2 separate regions of the Homo sapiens genome follow, and region 2 is linked to region 1. The links are contacts of gene promoters, found by promoter capture Hi-C in blood cells and fetal thymus (Javierre and others, 2016). All regions are on one chromosome and are shown on one strand. The core of a region is centred on a gene start or on the middle of the fragment in contact, and the rest is flanking DNA. Distances in the headings are between cores, read along the strand shown.

What was found. Contacts are between HindIII fragments. The CHiCAGO score rates a contact against its expected background, and 5 or more counts as called.
Region 2: a contact is called between a fragment that was not itself captured here and the fragment with the promoter of ZNF776 in region 1, in 1 of 17 cell types (neutrophils). The highest score is 6.0, in neutrophils.

Annotation. Positions count from the first base shown.
Region 1 is chr19:57,744,440-57,751,089 of GRCh38, reverse strand. ZNF776 (zinc finger protein 776) reads right to left here and starts at 4,275. Exons shown (of 3, transcript NM_173632.4): 1 at 3,999-4,275; 2 at 179-305. The coding sequence starts at 4,031. RefSeq lists an enhancer at 4,214-4,263. The HindIII fragment of the contact is 9,325 bases long and covers 1,272-6,650 here.
Region 2 is chr19:58,307,392-58,314,375 of GRCh38, reverse strand. It overlaps ERVK3-1 (endogenous retrovirus group K3 member 1), which reads right to left. Exons shown (of 4, transcript NM_001396080.1): 3 at 1,914-2,210. The coding sequence starts at 2,207. It overlaps ZNF8-ERVK3-1 (ZNF8-ERVK3-1 readthrough (NMD candidate)), which reads right to left. Exons shown (of 7, transcript NR_144447.1): 6 at 1,914-2,210. Among named protein-coding and RNA genes, the nearest start is that of ERVK3-1, 5.5 kb to the right of the region's middle. RefSeq lists a silencer at 3,379-3,673. The HindIII fragment of the contact is 5,065 bases long and covers 2,947-6,984 here.

The DNA.
Region 1 (6,650 bases), core at 3,026-5,525:
AGAGAGAGGGCAGTGCACACACCTCAGTCCTACATACCACATAGAACCTACCCAGGGAACTAACAGAGGAACCTGTGCCCAGGCTCCTGAAGTGAGGAAAACAGTCTTGCCATGGGGAAAAAAGATGGGGACAGACAGACAATAGCTGAGGTCATAGAGAAGAGTGTGAGTGCCTTACCTAGAGAAGATATAAGTGTCAGGTTCTCCAGCATCACGTCATGATAAAGGCATCTCTGAGCCTCACTAAGGAGACTCCATTCCTCCTGGGAAAAGTTCACAGCCACATCTTCAAAGGTCACAGTGCCCTGCCGTGATGATGACAGATGAAACCACAAACACTCCATATGCTCATCCACTTATCCACCCTTGCCCTTCCTCCTCCCAAGGTCCTAAACTACAAGGAGAAACTAGGCCCACTGGTGTCACTATCTTCTCATGGGCTCACTGGTCATGGTGTACAGCCATCAGCCACAAGAAGTGGGTGAAACAATAGATTTCTATGTTTTGGTGCTGATATAAAGCGGTCCATAACTTCCTGATAGCCAATGCCCCTGGTAGAGATGAAGTCATGTAAATCCCAATGCAGCATCCTCAGTCTATCAGACATACTCCTTCTCTAAATACACATCATTCCTTTTTTTTGCTTTTTTTTTTTTTGAGATAGGGTTTCACTCCTGTTGCCCAGGCTGGAGTGCAATGACATAATCTCAGCTCTCTGCAACCTCTGTCTACTGGGCTCGAGTAATTCTCTGGCCTTAGCCTCCCGAGTAGATGGGATACAGGTGCATGCCACCGTGCCGGCTAATTTTTTTTTTTTTTTGTATTTTTGGTAGAGAGAAGGTTTCACTATGTTGCCCAGGTTAGTCTCGAAATCCTGAGCTCAAGTGATTCACCCACCTCAGCCTCCCAATGTGCTGGGATTACAGGCATGAGCCACTGTGCTAGGCCAAAATACACATCATTCTTTAGACTGCACAGACACATGCCCATGGCCACCCCCACTAAACTGCCTCCCACATTGGCCTCTGCCTCCCCACAAGTTAAAGTATGTTTATACCCTCTTCTTCCTTCTACCAGTAAGGGTGAGATTTTCACCTTACAGTTATATTAATGACCAAACACATGACATCAAACACTAGACAGGTGCTATAAATATGTTTAAAAATCAAATACACTCAAAGTCTAGAAGAGGACATCCCTCATCATGAAGGACCACATAGGGGTTGCACTATGGATAAGAGTGCATAACCAGAAACTATGATATGCAAGCTTTTAAAATGAAGAGGGTGTGATGACCCCCGAATCCCTTAGGAGGATGCAACTGGCTTGTTTGAATAACACTGTGGGTAAGGATAAAATTGAAACTCACTACAAAGTATAATAACCAGGAATTCTGCCTGGTCTCCCTAATAAAAGGATTATTAGGCCATGCTGATTATTATCTAAAAGAGCCTAGTGGGAAGGGAATTGGTTCTCAGGTCATTTGAGGTCATACCAATATCACTAGATGTCAAGGTGACACATCATATTGGGCCTCCATTTTTGGCTTTATACCACAATATGGCTGACAGCATCCAATATGCTTCACATATTCAAACAGGATCCAATAATAACACAAAATGACCATGGTTCCCATTAGCAGTGGTAGTCCCTAATAATTCTATGAATGCCTCCTTGCATTACTCCACATCCATGCAAAACCACATGTAACTTCAGATATCCATGGTCTTATTCCACTTCTGTGCTACAATGGCTTACCCTTCAGCAACACGGACCAACTTCCATTCACCTAATACCATTGCCATTTAAAGAGCAGTCCTGGATGGGCATGGTGGTTCACACCTGTAATCCTAGCACTTTGGGAGGCTGAGGCAGGTGGATCATGAGGTCAGGAGTTCGAGACCAGCCTGGCCAATATGGTGAAATCACATCTCTACTAAAAATACAAAAAAAAATTAGTGGGGCGTGGTGGCACGCAACTGTATTCTCAGCTACCGGGAGGCTGAGGCAGGAGAATCACTTGAACCTGGGAGGTGGAGGTTGTAATGAGCCAAGATTGCGCCACTATACACCAGTACACCAGCCTGGGCGACAGAGTGAGACACCGTCTCAAAAAAAAAAAAAGTCCTGTTTTTAATCCATTTAAGGCCCAAGACCTACTGTCACAGATGACCATATTTCTCCCTGAGCATATTCAGCACGTGTAATGAAACCCCCCACACACTACCAAAGTCATCTCAAATCTTGATTGCACAGAGTGGTGAATAAGTACCACTCTGGCCTAAGTGTCATCTTCCCTCAATTTGACTACACTTCTGCATATATCTATTTCATGTCTATTCTCTCCTTGAAAGTCTATGTCCCCTGTCAAATTATGCTGACAGGTATACCCTACCATCATGGTCACTTACCTACCTCTCCAGTGTTTAGGAAGCCCAGTAACATTACCCAGGGACCCAAGCAACAGATGCAGTCCTCATCATTCAACCACTGCTTTCTGGTCCCCTAAAAGATTTACCACCAGAATCTGAAGTGTGTTCTCCTTAATGTGACCCATGGCTCACTCACCATAGCATACACATTAGCTACCATATATTAGATGTCTCCAGTGTCAATCCCTTTCCAGATACCCCAACCTGCATGTCCATAGCCATTTGATGCCTACACTTATTCGTCTCTGACTCTTCATATGGCCATAACAGTCATCCTGATATTTGCATAATATTCTAATTATGTTTATTACCAACATGCTCATCTCAGCTGATGCAGCTTCCATAGCTACAGCTACTAAGACCAAAAACCTCGGGATCCTGATTGCTCTCTTCATGCCCTTACTTTGTGTATTAGGAAACCTAGATGCTGTAACAAAATATCAACTTTGAATCCAGCCACATCTCCTTAGCCATGAATCTTAGTCTGTTAACCCTCACTTGGATTACGGCAAAAGCCTCAACTCTCATCTTATTTCCTCCTCTCTCAACCCCACAGTCTGTTCTCCACTGTACAGCCAGAGGAGACTACAGCCAGATGAAACTGTGGCAACATCACCTCCTCCCTCTGGTCAGTTTCACCTCTAAGCATTTCACATCCTGGTACTAACTCCTGGGTTAACCTTCCAAGTATGTTTATACTGGTTGACAGAAATGGGAATACCTCCATATATCCTGTGTCACAGACTTTGGATCCTGGGTTTAAGGTTCCTCCAGGGTTCCCATATCAAAAAACTTAAAAAAAAAAAAAAAAAGGTACCTAAGAATCCCAGGACATCCCAATCTAAAGAGCATGTGGATAGGAGTTAGGGCCAGTGAGGGAATAACACCCTCCGCTTCCCTGCGGAGGTTCTGCAAGTGCTTCTGCAGCCAGGAGTTCCTGAGAGGAGAGGCACAAGCTACAAGAATGTATCCCTGATGAGATTTGATAAGCTCAGGCCTCCCTGAACTCTTTCTTGGCCCTGTAACTAGGTAAACGCGAGTTGGTTGTCTGAACTGAGCGCCTCAGTACAAAATGTCATCTCTTAGCACCTATCTGATCTGTAGAGGTTGAACAAGAATTCAACCTCCCAGGGCCCAAAAGTCATCCCCTGTGTTCTTTTTCGACTGGACTTTGGGAAACCTTTAAAGCCTGGACATTGATCTTTTCCTTCCTTTGTTGGAAGCTGTCCATGGCTTCCAGCGTTCTCAGGGTGAATACACGGTCCTCAGCCTGCTCTTCCAGGAGGAGCTCTGCCTCACACTTTGCTCCCGACAGGTGCCTGTGGACCCTAGGTTACGATCCTCTCGGCTCAGTTCATCTCCAGGCCTTTGCCTGCACCGCTCCCTGTGCCTGTAGCTCTCCTGAGCGCATCCCGCGGGTGTCAAAAACGGGGGCCCATAGAGAGCGCCTCAGTGTCCCGACGCCGGGTTCAGGGTGTAAAACCTTGAGCAGGCGCCGCTTCCTCTCTGCTTTTGGACTTAGGTAAAGATGAGGTGACCTGAGGGCACGGAAGACGCCACAATTACCTGAGCCGGGGGCCTCAGCGCGGCCGCCGCCATCCGACTGGGTGGGGAAAGCGGGGTCGAAAGGAGGGGGCGAGCAGTGCAGGTACCCGGGCACGGTGGTCCCGATCCCGGCCTTGGTGCGGGTCACGCCTAGCGCCTTTAAGGAGCTGCAGAGCAGCCTCTGTGCAGTCGGGACAACGTCTCGTCTCCACCTTCTGGGTTCAGTCACTTCTACACGACCCAACACTCCGCGGTCTCTCACTGGAAAATACACCCAACACCAATCAAAATGGCCACTAGTAGAGGACGCCGGAAGTCCCACCTTTATACTGTTTCCGCGGAAACGCCTTTATTTTGAGCCCTCATTGGCTCTGACGCGCTGTCATTCGACGCAGAGATTTCTGGGTTATGTAGTTTCCTCAGGTTCCAAGACAGTTCCAAGGCGGTAAAGAAGGCCTTCTCAGAGGCGCTTGATTGCACAGAGTGGTGAATAAACACTACTCTGGCCTAAGTGTCATCTTCCCTCAATTTGACTATACTTCTGCATGTATCTATTTCATGTCTATTTTCTCCTTGAAAGTCTATATCCCCTGTCAAACTATGCTGTCAGGTATACCCTACCATCACGTTCACTTACTTGCAGGAAAGGCCCAGCTCCATCTCAGCGGCCTGTCCTTAAAGTGCATGTCCTTCTAGGGTAGAGGATAGTCTCACCTAGCCTTAGAACCCGTATTGAGATTTTTGGAGATTAGTGTCTGTAACTGATCACTCAAGTATTTGAAAAAATATTATTTTAGATTTTGGGGAACTCGAGCTCTCCGATGCTAAACTTATTATTTAGGATGCCCCCAAAGACTAAAAATCCAAATTATCATAACGTTTTGAACAGTCTTTCAGTCGCAAAATCCCGGTACTGGCAGCAGAGGCTGATAAACATTATTGTGTTATAAATTCACATGAATGCACTCTGAGGCATTAGAGTCAGTTTCTCAGTCTGTCAGGGACAAGAGAGAACTAATCCAGATAGGACAAGACAAGGAAGATAGAGGAGAAATGTTGTGTTCCCTAAAGCAGGAATACATGCTGAATCTCTGTCTGTGATTCCCACAGAAGACAACTCTCCTGCCTATAAAATCAATCATAGTGTCCAGTACATTGAGCAACACTTTTATCCACTTAGTATCCCTCGCTTGAGATTCCAACTTATATTCAATTAATTCTGGATTAATTTATCTAAGATTTATCAATCTTACAGGAAGACCAATGAAAGAAATGCTATTTTGGTAGTGATAAATGGCTGCAGTTTTCAAAGGTGGGGCACGTATGCAGAAGATGCTCTCCACCTGTTGATATTGGTTGTGTCTTAAATCCAGGAGTTCATGTTATTGCTGGGAAGTGGCTATTTTTTTTTTTTTGTATTAGATAAAACAGACTTTATTTATTTCTTTTCTTTTTTTTTTTTTGTGACTATTCTTTATTTCTGTTTCCATGGCAAGGAGTGTTTTGCCTAATAAATTAATGTTATGGATGGGATTACAGGCATGAGCCACCATACCTGGCTAATTTTGTATTTTTAGTAGAGACGGGGTTTCTCCATGTTGGTCAGGCTGGTCTCGAACTCTCAACCTCAGGTGATCCACCTGTCTCGGCCTCCCAAAGTGCTGGGATTAAAGGCATGAGCCACTGTACCCAGCCGCTCAGTTCTTAAAAAACCTATGTCTTCTATGTTCAGGGAGAAGAGGCATTTAGAGCAAGAGCTTACTCATTCTCCATTTCTGCTCAGAAATAAAACTTGCTTGCCTTTTTTTTTTTTTTTCCCAAATTGGGTGTTCTTTTTTTTGTGACCAATACAAAGTAGGGAAAGAACTCAGTTTATTGGTAGTACAACTTAAAAAAAAAAAAGCATGTTTAACATTCCAACTTTCATAGTCCTGTCAACTTTTACTTTATGTTGTAGTCCCAGGACTCTTCTCTCCAGACCATTTTACCCTTTCTTGTGCAGATGTCTTCAGGTTTCCACCCAGGGTTCAGGCCAGGAGACTTTGGCCTTTTTTCCAAGTGCTACCTTGATTAACCAGTCTAACCATCACCCTAGGCATTCCAGGTGGGGTTTCTCATTATATCTTTACCTTCTGGCTTTTAAAATTTATCCAAACTTCAGGAACTACAGCAACTTAGCTTAAGGCCCTTTAATGTTGGGGGATCAACAGGAACTTCCTTTGGTCCACCCAACCTTCAATAGTGTTATATTCAGAATTTTGTTTTAATCCGATCAGTTTTTATTTTATTCATCTAATTTCCATCTAATAGCCATCTAAAGATTTCCACCATGCTGGGATGAGTATCATGATTTCCCCCTTTTCTTTTTCCTCTTAGTTTCATTCCTATCCATGTTTTCTTTATTTGTCTTATTTCTTTATAACTATTTAAAAATTTCTACCTTCCTGGAAGGAGCTGTTTGACTCTCCCCTGTACCTTTCATCATTGTCTATCTTATTAATTAATCTAATGGTTTTATTAGCATCTGAAAGGCCCATAATAGGAAGCAAATTTGGTAAGACTGACTATAGCTCAATTTTGCAGCAGTAAGTTTACATAAGGTGCCCAAGAAAATGGGGTTCCCCAAACCAAGACATTTACCATGACCTGGGTAATAAACATATTCAGTAGGTA
Region 2 (6,984 bases), core at 4,230-6,729, 560 kb before region 1:
GGATTATAGGCGTGAGCCACCGCACCCGGCCAGGGTTGAGGCTTTCTAAGCCCTGCTGGAATTCTGTTTAAGCTTCTAAAAAGGGCTGTTATTTTTGAGTTTGCTTATTCAAGTTAAGAATTTTACTCTGTAAGTTACTGATATCAAAAGTAATATTGGATGTAAAAGCTCCCTGCAAATGAGCTTTTACAAGGTTCCATGGATATTCACTTTGGTTCTATTCCAAATTGGTCACACAAATATGAATATGATTGAAATGACAGTGCAATTGCTGCTACAATTGCAAACTTTGTACCTGCTTTCCCAGCCACAGAACAGTAGCCTTTAACATTGCTACCTTTGTTTGTAATTCGGTATTAATTTTATTTTGAAGCATCCATGCCTGGTTGGCTGTACATGTCCAATTTTCTACATATTGGGCTGTTTGAATAGAACTATGTAGTGCTACTGAGGACACTACAACCGAGGTTATTAGTGTGACTAAGGAGATTACAGTAAAAATTACTATGTTTAAGGCTTTACGTGCACGATGAGTGAGCTGGGTAAGAAGGAGTTTTACAAAATGTAAAGCAGGGGTGGCAGCCCAAGGTTTGCACAAATTGACAGGGATCCATAATCCAGGGATACGACCCAGAATTATTAGAGTGGATATGTTGTGTGTTTGTATTGTGCTATGATTGAGGCAGTGATACAGTTGACAAGAGTCACAAGTCAACTGGGTGATGTTTACGTGGAGTTGGTCCTTCTTAGATGCTAGAAAAACATAGGGATTAAAAACACAAACTGGCCGGGCATGGTGGCTCACGCCTGTAATCCCAGCACTTTGGGAAGCCAAGGCGGGTGGATCACGAGGTCAGGAATTCAAGAGCAGCCTGGCCAAGAAGGTGAAATCCCGTTTCTATTAAAAATACAAAAAACAAAAAATAGCCTGGCACGGTGGCGGGTGCCTGTAATCCCAGCTACTCGGGAGGCTGAGGCAGACAATTGCTTGAACCCGGGAGGCAAAGGTTGCAGTGACCCGAGATTGCGCCACTGCACTCCAGCCTGGGCGACAGAGTGAGACTCCATCTCAAACAGTTAACAACAACAACAAAAAACCCACAAACCGTAAATTGAGTGGTAATATTTTTTACAAAGGTGATATTAAAACTGTGTTGAGTAATATTACTATTGTTGGATAATGTTCTGACCCAGATGCTGTTATTCATAAATGGGAGTGTTGCCTTCCATATCGATTCCTGAATTGGGCCTCTGTTTCCTAGATGACGTCACTGAGGTAAGGGCGGGTTAAAGCCTGTCCTATACCAAGCAAGTTGTGCAGCCAACTGGGGGACTGAATCCCAGTGTGATGTGATGAAGAGGTGTTGAAGGTCCACCACCAGTGCCAGTGAAGTTTGTGCCAAGAGGTCTGATTTTCATCTCTCCCCTCTAAATGGCCACGGGGACCCCAGTCAATGTTTCCCATTAACATAGACTGTTGTCTGGCCAAGGGGCCAAGACACTGGGTCCAAGGAGGGGGGTGAGAAATATCAAAGGGAGCCCATTCCATATAATCCATACAATTTGAGTGATGGGGCTAGGAGTGATTGGTGAACACGCCAGTAACATTAATAAAGCTGAGGCCTAATAAATACATAATTTTTCCATGGTGACTTAACCATGCCTGAGATTGGACTGCAAGACAGCTGCAGTTGAGTGACGTATCCATGGTGATACATAAAGGGAGTCCTTCCAATGGGCCGGTGTAATTGATGCTATTGCTCTGTGTCAGACGGAGTTAGGGGTCCTGGTGCCCACGCTCCCTGATCATAATATATCTCAGGAGGAGTGTCGCTCCAGAGTACCAGTCGTACTACCAGTGGGTTAGGAACATATGCCCAATATGTTTTTGCCTCTACACAGGGGAAACATACCGCACAGGACACTACAGCTAGCATGGCCAAGAACATGGAGTCAGGGGTTTTTGCCTGACCCTGGCGCTCCAGTAGTTTCTCAGCTTCTTGTGTCGTTTTCTTGATCTGTCCCCATGTTATGGGGTTGGATGTCATTGTGACTCCGGTCGGCCCTTGTTCTGTCTTTGCATTCAGATTCCGCTGGCTCATGGCTCGTACTGGAGGTAACAGGCCCACGGTTGAATACCATGGATCCCTCCGGTCTCCCGTTCCATGGTCACACACACCTGGAGGGCACCCACACGGTTTGTCCATCTCCTGTAAAAACACAAGCATACCCTCGTCCCCACGTCAGCAAATCCACCGGACCTTTCCATTGTCCTTCTTCTGGGGATTTCCATAACACTTTTGGATAAACTTGCCTCTTTTCCTCTAGCAGTTGCCAGTGTCGTTCTGCTGGGGTCTTGCCATCCGTACCAGGAGTCAAACAATTTAAAGTAAACAAGGCTAAATGTAATTTTGTTTGAAGTGGTAATTGGTCCCCTATTCTCCCTTTTTGTTTTTTCAGCATGCGTTGTAGTGTTTGATGTACCCGCTCAATAATGCCTGGCCCTCAGGGATTGTATGGAATTCCTGTTTTATGATTGATTGCCCACAATTGTAAAAAATTGGGAAAGCATGACTAACATAAGCGAGTCCACTGTCAGTTTTAAATTGTTTAGGGACCCCCATATGGGCAAATGACGACAGACAGTATCGTCAGACATGACCAGCTGTTTCCCCAGTTTGGCATGTGGCATGTAACATATGGGAGTAAGTGTCTATATTACATGAACATAGCGGAGTTAGCCAAAGGCTGCTATATATATGTAACATCCATCTGCCAGATTTCATTTGGAGCCAAGCCTCGTGGGTTGCATCCTTCCACAGGTGCAACACCAGGGACATGCTGGCAAGTGGGGCAGGCTTGCACAATAACTCAAGCCTGGCTGCGAGGCAGATGAAACATACGAGTAAGGGCAAGTTGTTCTGATGCAGTAAAGCATGGGAAGCTTGGGCTTGTTGAAATATAGAACTGATGAATTTATCTGCTCTATCATTACCTAGAGATAGTGGCCCCAGGAAGTTGTGTGTGAGATCGGATATGAGAAATATGAAAAGGGGCAGCATGAGAGCGAACAGCTTTTTGGAGTCTCAGAAATAGGTTAAGCAGTTCTGGTTTTAAGGTGCTCTTGTGTGGGCGGCAAGCCATCCAGGCGCCGAAGCAAGAGACAGAGGACACGGGCTGTTCCAGTATAATAAAATATAAAACAAGAATAGTTATACCAGATATAGATCTTAGATATGATTATATATGAATATCATTAATCATTAGTTTGTAGCAATTACTTTTTATTCCAATATTACAATAATCCTTGCTCTATAATCATAGCCTAGGAAAAACCAGGCCATACAGAGATAGGAGCTGAGGGGACATAGTGAGGTGTGACCAGAAGACAAGAGTGCGAGCCTTCTGTTATGCCCAGACAGGGCCACCAGAGGGCTCCTTGGTCTAGTGGTGACGCCAGCGTTTGGGAAGACCGTGGTCTAGCGGTAGCGAAAAGTGTCAAGGAACAACACCCGCTACTTAGCAGACCGGGAAAGGGTGGGGGGCGGTCTCCCTTTCCCTGGGGGAGGTTAGAGAAGACTCTGCTCCTCCACCTCTTGTGGAGGGCCTGACATTAGTCAGGCTCGCCCACAGTTATCCGGAGGCCTAACCGTCTCCCTGTGATTCTGTGCTTCAGTGGTCACGCTCCTAGTCCGCCTTCATGTTCCATCCTGTACACCTGGCTCTGCCTTCTAGATAGCAGTAGTAAATTAGTGAAAGTACTAATAGTCCCTGATATGCAGAAATAATGGCGTAAGCTGTCTTTCTCTCTGTCTCCTCTCCCTCTCTGCCTCGGCTGCCAGGCAGGGAAGGGCCCCCTGACCAGTGGACACATGACCCACGTGACCTTACCTATCATTGGAGATGACTCACACTCTTTACCCTGCCCCTTTTGCTTTGTATCCAATAAATAAGAGCGCAGCCAGACATTCGGGGCCACTACCGGTCTCCGCGCATTGGTGGTAGTGGTCCCCCAGGCCCAGCTGCCTTTTATCTCTTTGTCTTGTGTCTTTATTTCTACACTCTCTCGTCGCCGCACACAGGGAGAGACCCACCGACCCTGTGGGGCTGGTCCGTACACTCTTGATAGTGGCAGTTTTAATGCAACTAGCTACATTTACGACATAGGCTGAATTACAGACAATATTAATAGGAAATAAAGCTGTGAGCTTTAAAACTTGAATAACTGCCATTAATTCAGAGTGTTGAGCTGAAACTCTAGGGGTCTTTATTATTTAAGTATATTTAGGTCCATAAATGGCTGTGTGGCTTTTGGAAGAGCCATCGGTAAAATAGGTCTGTCCACCTGAAATGGGTTTGTGATGAGCAATCACAGGGGGAATAAAAGGGTGAATTTTATAAAACTGCAAAATTTTGTCTGATGGATAATGGTTATCTATTATTTCTACAAAATCTGCGAAAGTGATTTGCCATGCAGTGGACATCTCCCAGGCCGCAGCCTGTTGTTGGGAATCCAAGGTAACAATAATTTTATCAGGATCATATCCTGTAAGCATTTTTGATCTATGCCTGCCTATTGTTATAAGTTGTGTGACTAAAGCAAGATAAACTTGCAAAGATTTTACTGTTTGACTGGATAAAAAAAGCCATTCTATTACCATTATAGTTTTGTCTATGAATTGAGCTAAAAGTCCTGATGGAGAATGGGGGGTAGGAAGAATAAACAAAACCAAAGACTTTTGTGGTTGTAGCCAGGAGGCATGTCGTTGCTGAAGCATCTTTCTACAAGCTGTAATTCAGCTTCTGCCTCCTTAGTAAGTTGCCGAGGGGAATCTAATGAAGAATCTCCTTGGAGGGTTTGATAAACATGAGTGAGTTGATAAGAAGCAATACCTAGCATTGGGCGCAGCCAATTAATATCCCCTAAGTTATTCAGAGTTTGTAATTTGTTCTTACGAAGAGCTACTTTCTGAGGCTGAATACTTTTTTCAGTAACAGTAGTATCTAAGTATTGGTATGAGGAGGTTGTTTGTACCTTTTCAGGAGCTATTTTGAGATTCCATTTAGTTAAAGCCCATTTTATTTCTCTGAATAACTGGTATAATACTTGATCTGTAGGAGTGGCCAAAACAATATTATCCATATAATGAATGATGTAGGTGGTGGAAAACATATTCCGAGGCTCCTTCAATGCTTTTCCTACAAAATGCTGACATAACGTAGGACTGTTGAGCATGCCTGGGGTAATAAAACTTTTCATTGATCACAAGAGACAGGCTCTCTCTGATTAATAGAAGGCACAGAGAAGGCGAATTGAGGCTTGTCCTTCTTGTGTAATGGTATAGTGAAAAAACAGTCTTTAAGATCTATTACTACAAGAGGCTAATCTCTTGGAATGGTTGCCGGGGATGGCAGACCTTGCTGTAATGCACCCACTGGTTTAATTTGTGCATTAACAGCTCTCAAATTATGCAGCAGTTGCCATTTTCCTGACGTTTTGGGGGTCACAAATACTGGTGAATTCCAAGCACTAACTGATACTTTTATATGTCCTGCATCCAATTGCTTTCTTACCAGCTGATGGAGTTGAGTCAGTTTTCTCCTGTGATAGGGGCCATTGATCCACCCACACAGGTTTATCAGTCAGCCACTCTAGCAGCAAGGCAGTGGGTGGAGAAGAAGTATCAATGACCCCTATCAGAAATCCTGATGACCTAGCCCTTTCCTATCTGTTTGCCCAGTTACCGATACCGGACCGGGGTTTCCCTGTAGGAACTTTCCCAAGCCTTTCCCACTCTGATATCCCATTTCCTTCAATATTTTAAATCCTGGATTATCAACCTTTTCATTTGTAAGTCTCACATCCCATGCTGTAAGTAAATCTCAGCCCCAGAGATTAACACGTATATTTGCAACATAAGGTTGAAAAGTACATGGCTGTCCATCTGGACTGACACAAAGTAAAATTTCAGCACTCTGTTAAACACTTTGAGCTGTTCCTACTCCCACTAAGGATGCAGAGGTTAGTAGCAGGGGCCAATTGTTTTTGGATATTACTGAAACATCTGCTCCTGTGTCCATACACCCACAACACTTCTTTCCTTTAATTTGCACTGCACAGGTGGGTCAATTAGAAGCTATGGGTTGGGATAGGTAAATTTCCTGTGTAGTTGTACTCCCAAATTCTTGATTTCCTCTTTTCTCCTTTCGTGAAGAAGGGTGTAATTTGCAGAGAATAATAATAAGCAATAGCTGAGCAATATATTTCCCAGGTTTAAAAACCCAAAGATCTTGTGACATTACAATTACTTGAATTTCTCCTTCATAATCAGAGTCAACAATCCAGGGATCACAGTAATGCCCTGTAAGTTCAGATGGCTTTGGCCTAAAATTAATCCTGTATATCCTGTTGGCAAAGGTTCCCAAATGCCTGTGGGAATTCTGGTGGGTTTGTCTCCTCCAACTAACGTGACCCATTCTCTGACTGAGCGATCTAATCCTGCACTCCCCGGTGTTCCAGAGGAGAGGGAGTCAATGTTCCTCCAGGAACCCACCCCTGTAGCAGGGTTGTGGCCTGGATGGGGAATGCCCTCATTGTTTGAGGGGCCCAGGCCCCATTCTCATTTCCTGAGAGCGGGGTGCCATTCTGATGAAATTTTGAGCAACACTGATTAGCCCAATGATTTCCTTTATTACGGCGAGGGCAAAGTCCTGGTGTTTTTTTTTCTGTGTGTGTGTGTTGGGGGGAGCGGGGCGGGGAGGGGGGGGCGGTATTGCATTGTAAGATCCCTTCTGCCCAGAGGTCTGATGGTATTCTTTTTTGAAATGTCCAATTTTTCCACAATTATAACATTTTCCCACTTTAGGGCTCAACCCTTGGCCCTTTTCAGATTTGTTCACTACTAAATTAGCTATTACTTGAGCTAACACAGTTGAACGATGGAGTTCAGTTCCCACATCCTGACAGGCTTTGAGAAAATTTCC